Regions from separate parts of the Homo sapiens genome. Here all the other regions are linked to region 1. The links are contacts of gene promoters, found by promoter capture Hi-C in human tissues and cell types (Jung and others, 2019). All regions are on one chromosome and are shown on one strand. The core of a region is centred on a gene start or on the middle of the fragment in contact, and the rest is flanking DNA. Distances in the headings are between cores, read along the strand shown.

The links. The method cuts DNA at HindIII sites, captures the fragments that hold promoters and counts their contacts. A contact is called where the count stands out against the background at its distance.
Region 2: a contact is called between the fragment with the promoter of VPS72 here and the fragment with the promoter of PSMB4 in region 1, in 2 of the 25 tissues and cell types used here (adrenal gland and hippocampus).
Region 3: a fragment that was not itself captured here is called in contact with the fragment with the promoter of PSMB4 in region 1 in 2 of the 25 tissues and cell types used here (lymphoblastoid cells and mesenchymal stem cells).

Annotation. Positions count from the first base shown.
Region 1 is chr1:151,396,455-151,401,212 of GRCh38, reverse strand. PSMB4 (proteasome 20S subunit beta 4) reads right to left here and starts at 1,640. Exons shown (of 7, transcript NM_002796.3): 1 at 1,486-1,640; 2 at 1,026-1,232; 3 at 625-771; 4 at 368-449. The coding sequence starts at 1,625. RefSeq lists a silencer at 913-1,070 and enhancers at 839-1,560, 1,911-1,960, 1,561-2,283. The HindIII fragment of the contact is 13,788 bases long and covers 1-4,758 here.
Region 2 is chr1:151,188,148-151,192,905 of GRCh38, reverse strand. VPS72 (vacuolar protein sorting 72 homolog) reads left to right here and starts at 2,709. Exons shown (of 6, transcript NM_005997.3): 1 at 2,709-2,901. The coding sequence starts at 2,785. RefSeq lists enhancers at 2,565-2,624, 2,665-2,734. The HindIII fragment of the contact is 20,238 bases long and covers 1-4,758 here.
Region 3 is chr1:151,265,184-151,269,941 of GRCh38, reverse strand. It overlaps PSMD4 (proteasome 26S subunit ubiquitin receptor, non-ATPase 4), which reads right to left. Exons shown (of 10, transcript NM_002810.4): 5 at 4,708-4,758; 6 at 4,333-4,548; 7 at 3,830-3,938; 8 at 3,503-3,634; 9 at 3,355-3,422; 10 at 2,463-2,769. The coding sequence ends at 2,599. Among named protein-coding and RNA genes, the nearest start is that of PSMD4, 13 kb to the right of the region's middle. RefSeq lists an enhancer at 4,115-4,409 and a silencer at 4,115-4,409. The HindIII fragment of the contact is 5,567 bases long and covers 1-4,758 here.

The DNA.
Region 1 (4,758 bases), core at 391-2,890:
GGGGATATTGGGCTGAATAACAGGCTAGTTGTCTCAAATCTATGGTATAAAAAGCATTAGAGTGAAAGATGACATTCTACTTCTTGCCTCACCAGAATGAACTCTGCTTAGAAAATAAGCTAAGAGCCACTTCAGGAAGAAGTTCTAGGGTGTCCTCTCTTTGCATGTCTACTGACTCCCAGTCATGTCATCTTGTCACTGGAATCAGTGTCAACACCTACAGCCCCCAGACTACAAAGAAAACCATCTGCCCAGTAATAGCGATCCCAGCCCATCCCTCATATCAGAATTTCAGGAGAAAAGCAGACAACCACTAATCCATTTCCTTTTGTCTTCCCTTTCCCCCACCTCTAGACTTACTACTTACCTGAGCCAAGTATGCACCATAACCAGTGGCCAGCGAAGGGGCTTCATAGGCTACACCAAGCATGTCCACATAACCGAGGAAGCTAACAGGACACAATGGGTCAAAACTCATTTCACCTTAGATTCATCTTAGCTGAAGAAGGGGACCATGGGGTCTGAGTTAAAGTGGGATTCACTTGGGGAGAAGAGACAGAAGAGATACTACACAGGTACTAGGTTGGGTGGTAAAGGAAATAAGTTATTTGTATTCATATGAACCTCTCTCCATCAGCATAGCCTCCGATGACCATGGTGTTCCACAAAGGGTTCATCTTCGAGCGCCGGCTGTACATGGCCCTGGTCAGCCATGAATGAATAGCTCTAGGACTATAGCTGTGTCCATCTCCCAGAAGCTCCTCATCAATCCTTAAAAGGAATTGGTTGTGAGAAAAGGGAGAGAATTAAGTCGGGGTCTCCACCCATCCCCAAAAGAAGTTACCACACCTTCCCCCATTTTACACCTAATGCCAAAAACTTTATTGCAAACACAGATCGCCCACCTCCAACAACTCTTCCAGTCCCCCGCTGCAACAAGTCCCCCCATCCCATCGAAGGGAATAAAAAACAGGGGACTCCCCTCTCTACTTGGGAACCACTCTCCTGTTCTCTGGATGACTTACACCATCTGGCCGAGAACTTGCTTCAAATACTGGAAATCAGCGTAGTCGCCAGAGGCACCCAGCATGGTACTGTTGTTGACTCGCATAATGCGAGAGATGTTGCGGAAACGAGCCAAGGAGCCGTAGGATCCCAGCATGTCTGCGGCAATCACCACTCCGCCCTCGAACTTAACGCCGAGGACTGAGGTCCCGGTCACCATGGGGTTCCTAAAGAGTGAGAACGGTGGGAGCTGAGAGGGGGGATGGACTGCGCCCTCTTTCCGCGCACTGAGCTGCGCTTCTGATTTTCTATAATTCCTTCCAATTATTCTGCATTCTCCAGGACTCCGCGCCCTGAGCTCCCCTGCCGTTCGCGCGCCCCCGGGGTCCCCGCCTCACCTTCCCGGGCTCTCAAAACCAGCCGGCAGCACCAGGCCCCACGGTCCCTCCCGCTACGCAAACGAAAGCGCCGAGAACTTACTGGGTCCGCGTGATTGGACCTCTGTAAAGTGCAGACGCCGGATCCATGAAGGAATCGGGAGTGGACGGAATGCGGTAAAACTGTCCTGGGGCCGGACCCCCCGCCCAAAGTCCGGACCGCGACCCCAAAAACGCTTCCATCTTAGTCACGGTAGCAGAAAAAATGAAAGCGCTTGCGCCAACGGAAGCGGAAGTGATCCTTCAGTGTCATTTCTTTCTTTTTCCTGTAGACGACTTCCAGCAGCCATGTTGATGAGGTCGTAGCTGAACATGCAGTAATCCTAGGTGGCGACCGAGACAGGGAGTTGAAATTGCCCAACATCGCTTCGCATCGCATCGCATCTCCGTGGAGTTTGGACCAGATCACAGCGTTCTAACACACGATTCAAGGAGGAGGGAGGCATGAAGGTGGGGTGGGGAGGTGGCCACTTAAAGACGCTGATCCTGAGTGAGACGTCACAATTTTTTATTTTATTTTTTATTTTTTTGAGACGGAGTCTCGCTCTGGCCCCCAGGCTGGAATGCAGTGGCGCGATCTCGGCTCACTGCAACCTCCGCCTCCCAGATTCAAGCGATTCTCGTGCCTTAGCCTCCCGAGTAGCTGGGATTACAGGCGCCTGCCACCACGCCTGGCTAATTTTTTGTATTTTTGCTAGAGATGGGGTTTCACCATGTTGGCCAGGCTGGTCTCGAACTCCGGATCTCAGGTGATCCGCCTGCCTCGGACTCCCAAAGTGCTGGGATTACAGGAGTAAGCCGCCTCGCCCGGCCTAGAAGTCACAGTTCTCATGTTCCTTTTGTATCATTATCAAAAAGCCCACATGAAAATATCAGTGAACACAGGATCTCTTACATCTGTACTCCTCAGAGCAGCCCCATGTGGCAGGCATTATTCGACCCATTTGGTAAATAGGAAACCGAGGCTTGCGGTGTAGTGATTTACCCAGTCACACAGCCGATAACGGTAGAACTGAATCTTGAAGCTAGAATAAAAAAAGGAATCAGGGCCGGGTGCGGTGGCTCATGCCTGTAATCCCAGAACTTTGGGAGGCCAAGACGGGAGGATCACTTGAACCCAGGAATTCAAGACCAGCCTTGGCAACATGGTGAGACCTCACCTCTACAAAACAAAACAAAACAAAAAATTAGCCAGGCCTGTAATTCCAGCTACTTGGGAGGGTGAGGTGGGAGAATCGCCTGAACCCGAGGGAGGTTGCAGTGAGCCAAGGTGGCGCCACTGCACTCCAGCCTGGGCAACAGAGCGAGACCCTGTCACAAAAAAAAAAAAAAAAAAAAAAAAAAAAAGAATACACTTGTGTATACCCTGTGGGGTGTGATAGCTCAGGTGGATCAAGCACTCTCTGTGGGACCTTAGACAAGTCTGAAAGTTTCCTTATTGTCAAGGGCCCTTGCCCACCTCTAAAGAAACAGAAAAATTCCATTGGAAGTGTAGGGGTGAAACTAAATTCCAGGGGTTTCCTTCTCAGTGTAACTCCATAGCAGGGGCTGGAAACTGTCTTGAATCAAACTGGTGAATTTTGTCAAAGATAAACAAAGCCGGACACTAAAGTGGAAAGGACAGATTTCAATCAGTAATAACTACTACAATAAGGAAAAACAGTTCAGCATGAACTGAACTCAACTGCAATTTGTATGCAAGTAATGGGTATTTTATAGGGAAAATGAGGTTAGGGGACAGTGAGACAGAGGGTCAGTAGAGTCAGGGAAGTGAACATTTACAGAATTAGTCAATGTAAATGTGCTTAGGTCAATGATGTCTGCTAGCTGGCATTTATGGAAGTTAGGATTCCATCCTCCCACAGAGACTGGTGAGGATACCATCCTCAACACTGTCCTTAGGTGTCTTTTGTTTGTTTGTTTTTTGAGACAAGGTCTGGCTCTGTCACCCAGGCTGGAGTGCAGTGGCATGATCTCGGCTCACTGCGACCCTTGCCTCCCCGGCTCCAGCGATCCTCCAGCTGCAACCTCTCGAGTAGCTGGGGACTACAGATGCCACACCCGGCTAATTTTTGTTTTTGTTTTTTTTCTTTTTTTCTTATTTTGAGAGGGAGTCTTGCTCTGTTGCACAGGCTGGAGTGCAGTGGCACGATCTCAACTCAAAGCAGCCTCCGCCTCCCTGGTTCAAGCGATTCTCCAGCCTCAGCCTCCTCAGTAGCTGGGATTACAGGGGTGCACAACCATGCCCAGCTAATTTTTTTTTTGTTGTTGTTGTTGTATTTTTAGTAGAGATGGGGTTTCATCACACTGGCCAGGTTGGTCTCAAACTCCTGACCTCAGGTAATCCTCTCACCCCAGCCTCCCAAAGTGATGGAATTACAGGCGTGAGACACCACGACCGGCCTAATTTTTGTATTTTTTTGTAGAGACCAGGAGAGATCTCACCATGTTGCCCAGGCTAGTTTCAAACTCCTGAGCTCAAGAAATCTGCCCACCTCAGGCCGGGCGCGGTGGCTCATGCCTGTAATCCCAGGACTTTGGGAGACTTAGATGGGCGGATCACCTGAGGTCAGGAATTCAAGACCAGCATGGCCAACGTGATGAAACCCCATCTCTACAAAAAATACAAAAATTAGCCGGGTGTGGTGGCACACGCCTGTAATCCCAGGTACTTGGGAGGTTGAGGCAGGAGATTTGTTTGAACCCAGGAGACAGAGGTTGCAGTGAGCCAAGATTGCACCACTGCACTCCAGCCTGAGTGACAGAACTAACGAAACGCTGTCTCAAAAAAAGGAAAGAAAAGAAAGGAAAGAAGGAAAGGAAAGGAAGGAAGGAAAGAAAGAAAGGAAAGAGAGACAGACAGAAAGAAAAAGAAAGGAAGAAAGAAAGGAAGGGAAAGGAAAGGAAGGAAAAGGAAAGGAAGGAAGGAAGAGAAGAGAGAGAGGGAGGGAGGGAAAGGAAAGGAAGGAAAGGAAGAACGAAAGAGAGAGAAAGAAAGCTGCCCACCCAAAGTGCTGGGATTACAGGCGTGAGCCACTGCCCCTGGCCTATTCTCAGGTATTGGCTGGAACAAAGTAAATTATTTTGGCAGCCTTGAGTTTTCTCAGGCAGACACTTTAAGGCAGGAGAGGGTCACCTCAGGGATGTGACCCTGAGCTTTTAGAAGCTATGTTACCGGTGGGGTAATATAGCTATATATTTTATCTATATATAAAATAATTTTTTAAATGAGAGGATCCAGAGTCATCCCTCCTGAGAGTAGGATGTCAGAGAAAGCAAACTGCTAACTACTGATGATGCAATATTCAAAAGAACG
Region 2 (4,758 bases), core at 1,460-3,959, 210 kb after region 1:
CAGCACAAACATTCAATATCCTTCTTCTAGCTATTTGAAAATATTATTGTTAATCATAGTTATCCCCCAGTGATATAGAACACTAGAATTTTTTTTTTTTTTTTTGAGATGGAGTCTCACTCTTGTTGCCCAGGCTAGAGTGCAATGGTGCGATCTTGGTTCACTGCAACCTCCGCCTCCGGGGTTCAAGTGATTCTCCTGCCTCTGCCTCCTAGTAGGTGGGATTACAGGCACCCGCCAACGTGCTCGGCTAATTTTTGTATTTTTAGTAGAGATGGGGTTTCGCCATGTTGGCCAGGCTAGTCTCAAACTCCTGATCTAAGGTGATCTGCCCACTTCAGCCTCCCAAAGTTTTGGGATTACAGGTGTGAGCCACCACACCCGGCCAAGAACACTAGAATTTATTCCTCCTATCTAAATGTAATTTGGGGCCAAGCGAGGTGGCTCACACCTGTAATCCCAGCACATTGAGAGGCTGAGGAGTGGGGATCACTTGAGCTCAGGTGATCACCGTGGGCAACATGATGAAATCTCATCTCCACAAAAAGTACAAAAAATTAGCCAGGCGTGGTGACACGAGCCTGTAGTTCCAGCTACCCACGAGGCTGAGGTGCGATGATCACTTGAACCCAGGAGGTCGAGACTGCAGTGAGCAGTGATTGCATCACTGTATTCCAGCCTGGGTGACAAAGTGAGATCCTATCTCAAACAAACAAACAAACGAACAAACAAATGTAATTGGGGGCCAGTGTGGTGGCTCACAGCTGTAATCCTAGCACTTTTGGAAGCCAAGGTGGGAGGACAGCTTGAGCCCAGGAGGTCAAGGAGGCAGTGAGCCATGATCCTGCTGCTGCACTCCAGCCTGGGCAATAGAGACCCTGTCTCAAAAAAAATTGTAATTTTGTGTCTTTTTTTTTTTTCTTTTGAGATGGAGTCTTGCTCTGTTGCCAGGCTGGAGTGCAGTGGCACAATCTCAGCTCACTGCAACCTCTGCCTCCCGGGTTCAAGCGATTCTCCTGCCTCAGCCTCCCTAGTAGCTGGGACTACAGGTGCGCGCCACCACACCCAGCTAATTTTTGTATTTGTAGTAGATACGGGGTTTCACCATGTTGGCCAGGATGGTCACAATCTCTTGACCTCGGGATCTGCCCGCTTCAGCCTCCCAAAGTGCTGGGATTACAGGTGTGAGCCACTGTGCCAGGCCCAATTTTGTCTTTTTTTTTTTTCTGAGACGGAGTCTTGCTCTGTTTCCCAGGCTGGAGAGCAAATGGCGCGATCTCGGCTCACTGCAACCTCCGCCTCCCGAGTTCAAGCAATTCTCTGCCTCAGCCTCTCGAGTATCTGGGATAACAGGCGCCCACCACCACGACCAGCTAATTTTTGTATTTTTAGTAGAGATGGGGTTTCGCCATCTTGGCCAGGCTGGTCGTGAACTCCTGACCTCATGATCCACCCCCTTCGGCCTCCCAAAGTGCTGGGATTACAGGTGTGAGCCACAATTTTGTGTCTTTTAACAAATCTTTCCCTGTCCCTTCCTTCCCCCTGCTCTTCCCAGCCTCCAGTATCCTCTGTTCTTTCACTTCTATGAAATCAACTTTTTAAAAGCGTCACATATGAGTGAGAACATGCAGTGTTTTAACTTTCTGTTCGTGGCTTAAGTCAGTTAACATGTCCTCCAGTTCCATCCATGTTGCTGCAAATGACAGGATTTTCTTCTTTTTAATGGCTGAAAAGTATTCCATTGTGTATATACACCCTATTTCCTTTATTCATCTGTTGTTGGACACAGAGATTGATTTCCTATTTTGGCTACTCTAAGTAGTGCTGCAATAAATATGGGGGTGCATAAATATGGAGTGCAGACGTCTCTTGGATATACTGATTTCCTTTTTTTTTTTCCTCCTAAATTGGCTTCCTCAGGTTGAATTATGTCCTTTCCTTTGGATAAATGTCTATGGCTGTGTTTTTAACCACAATACTATGCTTCCTTCCTCAAGGATTTTTGACTTTATCTTGTAGATGATGTGGAGCCATTAAAAATGTTTGAGGACAGGAGTGGCAAAACGTGGGTTTTTAGAAAGTTTCCTACTAGCAGCAGTGTAGAAAATGGACTGGAGCGGAGAGAATGACCTCTTCTAAAAGAAAATGTGAGCTGGGGGCGCAGGCTTATGCCTGTAATCCCAGCACTTTGGGAGGCCGAAGCGGGCGGATCACCTGAGGTCAGGAGTTCGAGACCAGCCTGGCCAACACGGTGAAAGCTGTCTCTACTAAAAATACAAAAATTAGTTGGGCATGGTGGCGGGCGCCTGTAATCCCAGCTACTCGGGGGACTGAGGCAGGAGAATCGCTTCAGCCCGGGGGACGGAGGTTGCAGTGAGCCGAGATCGTGCCACTGCACTCCAGTCTGGCGACAGAGCGAGGCGAGACTCCGTCCCTACGGAAAAAAAAAACCATATATATATATAAAATAAAAATAAATAAAATAAAATGTGTTGACTTAGGGTTATGGGGGTCTTCGTACCACCAAGTGGACTCATTGAGCAAGGGAGATCGCTGGGTACTAGAGCAAGCGGCCTAGAGCATCCGCGCAGGAGTAGGAGAGGCTGAAGAGTAAAGAGGGTTTAGAGGGTGGGACTGGGAGTCTCTCGACACTCTGTTACTTCTGCCTGTAAACGCCCGACTTCCGCCGCTGGTGGCCACCCGCAGGTAGTGATGTCGAGCGTCGAGCTCCCAAAACCGAGCTGGTGAGGGGCTGCAGGTGGCGGCGCAGTCTCGGTAGGCGGTATGAGTTTGGCTGGGGGCCGGGCACCCCGGAAGACCGCTGGGAACCGGCTTTCTGGGCTTTTGGAGGCAGAGGAGGAAGATGAGTTCTACCAGACGACTTATGGGGGTTTCACAGAGGCAAGATCCGGGCCTGGGAAAAGGGAGGGGAGGAGGCAAAGAGGAGCCCTGAAGGGAGAAACCCCGGACAAAGAAGAAGAGGGCGGGGAATAGAGAGGAGCTCTGGGAGCTGATACTCGAGTTGGGTGGGTGAATCGGAGCCGGGGGGCGAGGCGGGGGAACGGATAGTGTGGAGTCCTAGAAGGGAGAGCTCTGGATGGGGTCAAAGGGGCCTGAGACGGAGAAGCTCTCCGGAGGCACTCCAGAGAACAGAGAACGGCAGAAACCTACCGTATACTTGCGTGGTTGCATCTTTCACTGTACTTCTGACGTCCAGCATACACGAGGCACACACATAGTAGTAGACAGTTGCTCGATGTATACTCGTTGGCCCACTGCTGGATTATTCACCTGAGACATGGAAAGGAACCGCTCCAAAAGTAGAGGAGCTTAGCCCACTTCTTTTTCAGCTTTCAGGTCTCAGTGTAAATGTTTTCTCAGGAAGATAACCCTTCCTTGACTATCCTAACAAGTGTCCCCATTTATTTCTTCCACAGAACATATTTCAATTTGCAATTAGATTTGGTTTGCTTACTTGCTTATGCTTTTCTATTGCATTGTAAACTGTATAAAGTTAGAGATGGTCTGTTTTGTTCAACATTATGTGTGAGGTGTCCGGACTGGGCTGCCACTTGCTAAATTTTTATTAGTTGAATCTACCCGTTTATTAAATGTGTTGAGTACCCAGAGCATGCCATCGGTAATAGGTTGTTTTAGGCTCTAGGGAAACAGAATATTAAAAACAGTGCTCTGTCCTTACATACTCCATGCCCCAGTGGGGTAACTGCCTGGGTTAACAGTTAAAATACTGTGTGATAGGCCGAGCACAGTGGCTTTGGCCGGGCACAGTGGCTCACGCCTGTAATCCCAGCACTTTGGAAGGCCGAGGCGGGTGGATCACAAGGTCAGGAAATCGAGACCATCCTGGCCAACATGGTAAAACCCCCTGTCTCTATTAAAATACAAAAATTAGCCAAGCGTGGTGGTGTGCGCCTATAGTCCCAGCTACTCAGGAGGCTGAGGCAGAGAATCGCTTGAACCTGGGAGGAGGAGGTTGCAGTGAGCCGAGATCGTACCACTGCACTCCAGCCTGGGCGACAGAGCAGGACTCCGTCTCAAAAACAAACAAAAAATGTGTGATAAGGACTAAAACAAGGTGTAAGAGTGTTAAGGTAATACATCTGAACCAAAGTTGTTGATCAGGATAGGCATCCCTGGAGGGATGATGTTTAAGCTGAGGACAGTTTGAAAAGTAGACCTTAGCTTGATGAAAAGCAGGAGAAGGAGAAAGGTTAGTCCACAGAGCAGGATGGGCTGAGTATGTAAAGACATTGAGATCCTGGTCTAGGACCTGCAAGTCTACTTTCATTCTCCAGAGCATGAAGGAGACTAAAGATTGATAAGCCTGCAGGGAGTAGGCATGGGCCAGATCCTTTAGGGCCTTGTGAGCTATGTTAAGGAATTTTGCTCTTCATCCAGAGGACTGAGAAGAGTCATCAGAATTCCACGATGAAATTTGTACTTTAGGAAGGTTACTTACTCTGTAATGAGAATGGCTTGAAGGGGGCATGGCAGTAGAGAAACAGAAAGATTCAAGAGAAATTAAGGAATAGAACCCACAGGACTTAGGGGCTGGGTGTGGTGGCTCACGCCTGTAATTCCAGCACTTTGGGAGGCTGAGGCGGGTGGATCACGAGGTCAGGAGTTCGAGACCAGCCTGACCAACATGGTGAAACCCTGTCACTACTAAAAATGCAAAAAATTAGCTGGTTGTGGTGGCGTGTGCCTGTAATTCCAGCTACTTAGGAGGCTGAGGCA
Region 3 (4,758 bases), core at 1,405-3,904, 130 kb after region 1:
TTTGGGAGGTGGTGGCTCAAGCCTGTAATCCCAGCACTTTGGGAGGCCGAGGCGGGCGGATCACAAGGTCAGATCCAGACCATCCTGGCTAACACGGTGAAACCCCATCTCTACTAAAAATCCAAAAAATTAGCCGGGCGTGGTGGCGGGCGCCTGTAGTCCCAGCTACTCGGGAGGCTGAGGCAGGAGAATGGCGTGAACCCGGGAGGCGGAGCTTGCAGTGAGCCAAGATCATGCCACTGCACTCCAGCCTGGGTGACAGAGCAAGACTCCGTCTCAAAAAAAAAAAAAAAAAAAAAAATGCTAGGTGTGGTGGTTCAGGCCTATAATTCCAGCACTTTGGGAGGCTGAGGTGGGCAGATTGCTTGAGCTCACGACCAGTCTAGGTAACCTGGCGAAACCCCGTCTCTACAAAAAAAATATAAAAATTAGTCAGGCGTTGTAATCCCAGCACTTCAGGAGGCCGAGGCAGGTAGATCACGAGGTCAGGAGTTCAAGACCAGCCTGGCCAAGATGATGAAACCGTCTCTACCAAAAATAAAAAAATTAGACGGGTGTGGTGGCACATGCCTGTAATCCCAGCTACTTGGGAGGCTAAGGCAGGAGAATCGCTTGAACCCAGGAGGCGGAGGTTGCAGTGAGCAGAGATCGTGCCATTGCACTCTAGCCTGGGCAACAAGAGCGAAACTCTGCCTCGAAAACAAAAAAAAAACTAAATTATAATATTCTATAGTAAACAGTATAGATAATGGCTAAAATGGAAAAATTAAGAAATAGCCATATAAGTTCATTCTTTGGGAATAAGGAAGTAAGCACAGGAAGAGCTAGCTAAAGAAGTTAAATTGATTACTTCTGGGAGTAGACCTCAAGAGTGCAGAGGGGTAGGGCAGGACCCTACCAATTTTTATTACAAATCTAACTTTTAAAACTATATAGGCCAGGCACGGTGGCTCACACCTATAATCCCAGCACTTTGGGAGGCCGAGGTGGGAGGATCACTTGAGCCCAGGAGTTCAAGACCAGCCTGGGAAACATAGACCGCATATCTATAAAAAAAATTAAAAATTAGCCAGGCATGGTGGTACATACCTATAGTCCCAGCTACTTGCGAGGCTGAGGCATGAGAACTGCTTGAGCCTGGGGGGCAGAGGTTGCAGTGAGCCAAGACAGTGCCACTGCACTCCAGCCTGTGCGACAGACTCCATCTCAAAAAAAAAAAAAAAAAATTAGCTGGGCGTGGTAGTGTGTGCCTTAGTCCCAGCTATGCAGGAGGCTGAGGCAGGAGGATCCTTTAGGCTAGGAGGTTGAGGCTACAGTGAGCTATGATCACACCACTGCACCCCAGCCTGGGTGACAGAGCACAGACTTTGTTTAAAATAAATAAAAATATATATATATATTTTTTAATTTTTTATTTTTTGAGAGTCTCCCTCTGTCGCCCAGGCTGGAATGCAGTGGCATGATCTCAGCTCACTGCAACCTCCGCCTCCTGGGTTCAAGCAATTCTCCTGCCTCAGCCTCCTGAGTAGCTGGAATTACAGGCGTGTGCCACCACACCCGGCTAATTTTTTTTCTATTTTTAGTAGAGACGGGGTTTCACCATATTGGTCAGGCTGGTCTCAAACTCCTGACCTTGTGATCTGCCCACCTCGGCCTCCCAAAGTGCTGGGATTACAGGTGTGAGCCACCGCACCTGGCTGAAAAAAAAAAAAACTTTAAAAAAAATTATAAAGGGAATAGATGTTCCTTGTAAAATAATATTTAAACCGTATAATATAAAGTCTCAAGGTAAGGTTACTTGTAGAGTGGATTTTATGCATGTACACTGAGAGGAAAACGCCAGCAGGGTGTTTAGGACAGCAGAGACTCAGGAGACAGCATAACTGATGCAGGGAGGTGCTGGCAGGAGGGAGGGAGCCAGAACTTCCTGCCTCACGGCCTTGACTCTCTGTAAAGATGTCAGGCTTCTGTTGAGAGTGATCGGGGAGTAGAGGAAGGTATAGTAGTTGCTACAAGGAACTGACTTGCAGGGCTGAGCAGAGTCACTGAAGGCAGCTGACCAATGGGAAACTACTGTTTGGTGGTGATTCAACTCCTGGCGAGACAGGTCTGAGACAAGTTTGGATTTTGATCCTGGTTCTGCCTCTTCATTAGCTAAATATCCTTGGCCAAATAACCTAAACTTGCTGAACCTCAGAAGTCCACATGAAAAAACTGAAAAGGTTGAGTATCATTCCATGCTTGGGGTTCAGCTGTGTGAGTGCAGAGTAAAAGTTATTGGCAAGAAGGTGGTTTAAATAAGGTCTTCGTTCATTAGAAATGGAAACCTGGCTCCTGGGCCTGTAATCCCAGCACGTTAGGAGGCCCAGACAGGTGGAAACAGAGACATAGAGAACTCAACAAGGAAGGTTCTCCTTCAGGCCAGGGACTCCTCCCCTCTCTCACACTCAAAACCATCAATATTTGAAGCAAAAAAGGAAAAAAAGTTGCCAAGCTTTATTTAGGCTGTAATGGTTACAGATAACACACATCTAACCCTATATTCCGTGCTTCCCATGCAGTCCCCTAAGCAGACTCAGCTACCCTTTCCCTCCAGTCTCACTTCTTGTCTTCCTCCTTCTTGTCCTTCTTGCCGTCCTTGGTGGCCTGGGAGGCCAGGGAGCCCATAGCATTTCGAATGGCTTCATTGTTGGGATCCACACCTGGGAGGTTCTCTAGGACACTCTGAAGGAACTCGGGGTCCTGCATCACGTCGTAATCATCCTCCTCCTGCAAACAGGCAGTGTGAGCTCAAGGGAGGGTATGGAGCGGCAGGAAGTAAGCAGGTGTTAAGGACAGGAGCATGCCGCTGCCAGAGGCCCCCTGCCTTCTGACTGTGTGGGGATCTGGGCACCTCTGGTCGACGTAAGGAAAGGACAAGTCAGCAAAATCCTTTATACAGCATGAATGCAGTTATTACTAACCAAATAGAGGGGCCTGCTGAGAACTCTGTTAATTGAGCTCTGAGGAGAAAAACAGATGCCATCACATTGAGGTTTCCTGCTCTCAAGACACCCAGTTCTCCTTTTTCTTTTTCCCAGACCCGCTTTTTTCCCTCCTGGGAAGACATCCTAGAGAACTGCCCAGGCTGCTCCCACCAGCAAGAAAGGAAAATTACAGAACAAGAGGACATTTCTCCAACTCTGACCATTAGCATTGCTACCTTAGCAAGGTTTACATGTAAGAAATGCAAATCCATGTGTTTCCCTCTGCTCCTCAAAGGACTTAGCTATGGTAGAAATACTCCCAGCCCCAGAGGGATGAGGATCTAAATTCAAGGACTTTAAACCTGATGGGGGCAGGGTTGGGTCTCACCTTGGCTGGCTCAGATGTGTCCATAGCTGAGCTGGCATCAATGTCTGCTGATTCCGCCTGGCCAAACTCTGAGGAAGAGAGGTCAGTCTGTTCAGTTACACTTCCTCACCCCAACCTCTGCCTAGGCACCACCCAGGCTCTGGCTCACCTGCTCCCTGCAGGGACATCTGCATGGCATAAGCAATCTGCTCTTCCTCAGTCATACTGCTTAGGTCAGGAAGCCCAGTGCGGCCAAACTCTTGCTGGCTGATGGTCATCTTCAGCAGGGCATCGTCTGAGTCTGGGAAAAGGAAAAGAGGAGCAGGGTAGAATTGGTGCCATATCCACACAGGCCAGCCTCCAAGGCCATTCCTAGCCCAGCCCTCCCACATATTCCTACCCTGTCAGACCTCCACACTCTCCCTGCAGTGCCTACACCCAGCTTTCAATGTTTAGCATCCCGCAGTCCCAGGACTTCGGATTCCACCTCTTTCACCTTCAGTCCCAGTCGTAGCAATCCCGGCCTCAGCAGCAGAAGCTGCAGCTGCCCGCCGGGCCTCCTCCTCCTGCCGCTGCCGCTGCTCTTCCATAGATACACGAAGGGCCTGGTGAAGGGCAGGGCATAATCAGGGCTCCCCTGCCCTCACTCCTACAGGGAGCTGGGAAAGTCAGTTGGGGTGTGGGAAAGGAACATAAAGGGGCAGCTTCTGGTTTATCACACAGAGAAGAAGCTGGAGGGATAAGCAGTGGTACGGGATTAAAAAGTAAGGACTTGGGAGAAGCCTCGGTTTTCATCAGAAGTGAACAAGAAAGCATCTGACACTGGTGCCCCTAGAGATCAGACAGCATTATAGGGAAGAGGCGGCAAAAGGAGGTCTTGGAAAATGAGTGATTGGTAGTGTCTAGGACTATCCAGCCTGATAGAAGCTCTGTGATGTGTGTGCCAGAAGAGAACAAAGAGGGACCTTTGGACTCTACCTGGGGTCAACATTTGCTCACCAAGGCCAGCTCAGGATCAGCACTGGGATCTACTCCAAATTCAAAGTCACTGGCACCAAGACCCAGCATGGCACCACCTTCACCAGCCAAAATCGGAGAACTGATGAGAGCATCAGCCAAACTGGGCCCAGGAGGCACTGTCACCAGATGAGAACCGGTTCCATCTTTGCCATTCAACGTGTTTACAAAGGCTGTCAGCTTTTCTGTGTTCACCTCCTGGGGAGGAAAGAACACATGATGCCCTTCTTCAGGCCTTGCTCCCTGTTCTTTCCCATTTCTGCACTACTCTGCCACAGTACCCGCACTCCTCAGGGTTAAGGACCATTCTGTTTATGACCAAATTAAGTCAATGCCCTCCAATCAGTCCCTACTCACCTCTTCCCCAAAATTGATAATGTCAACATTTACTTTCTCCTTCTTGAGGCG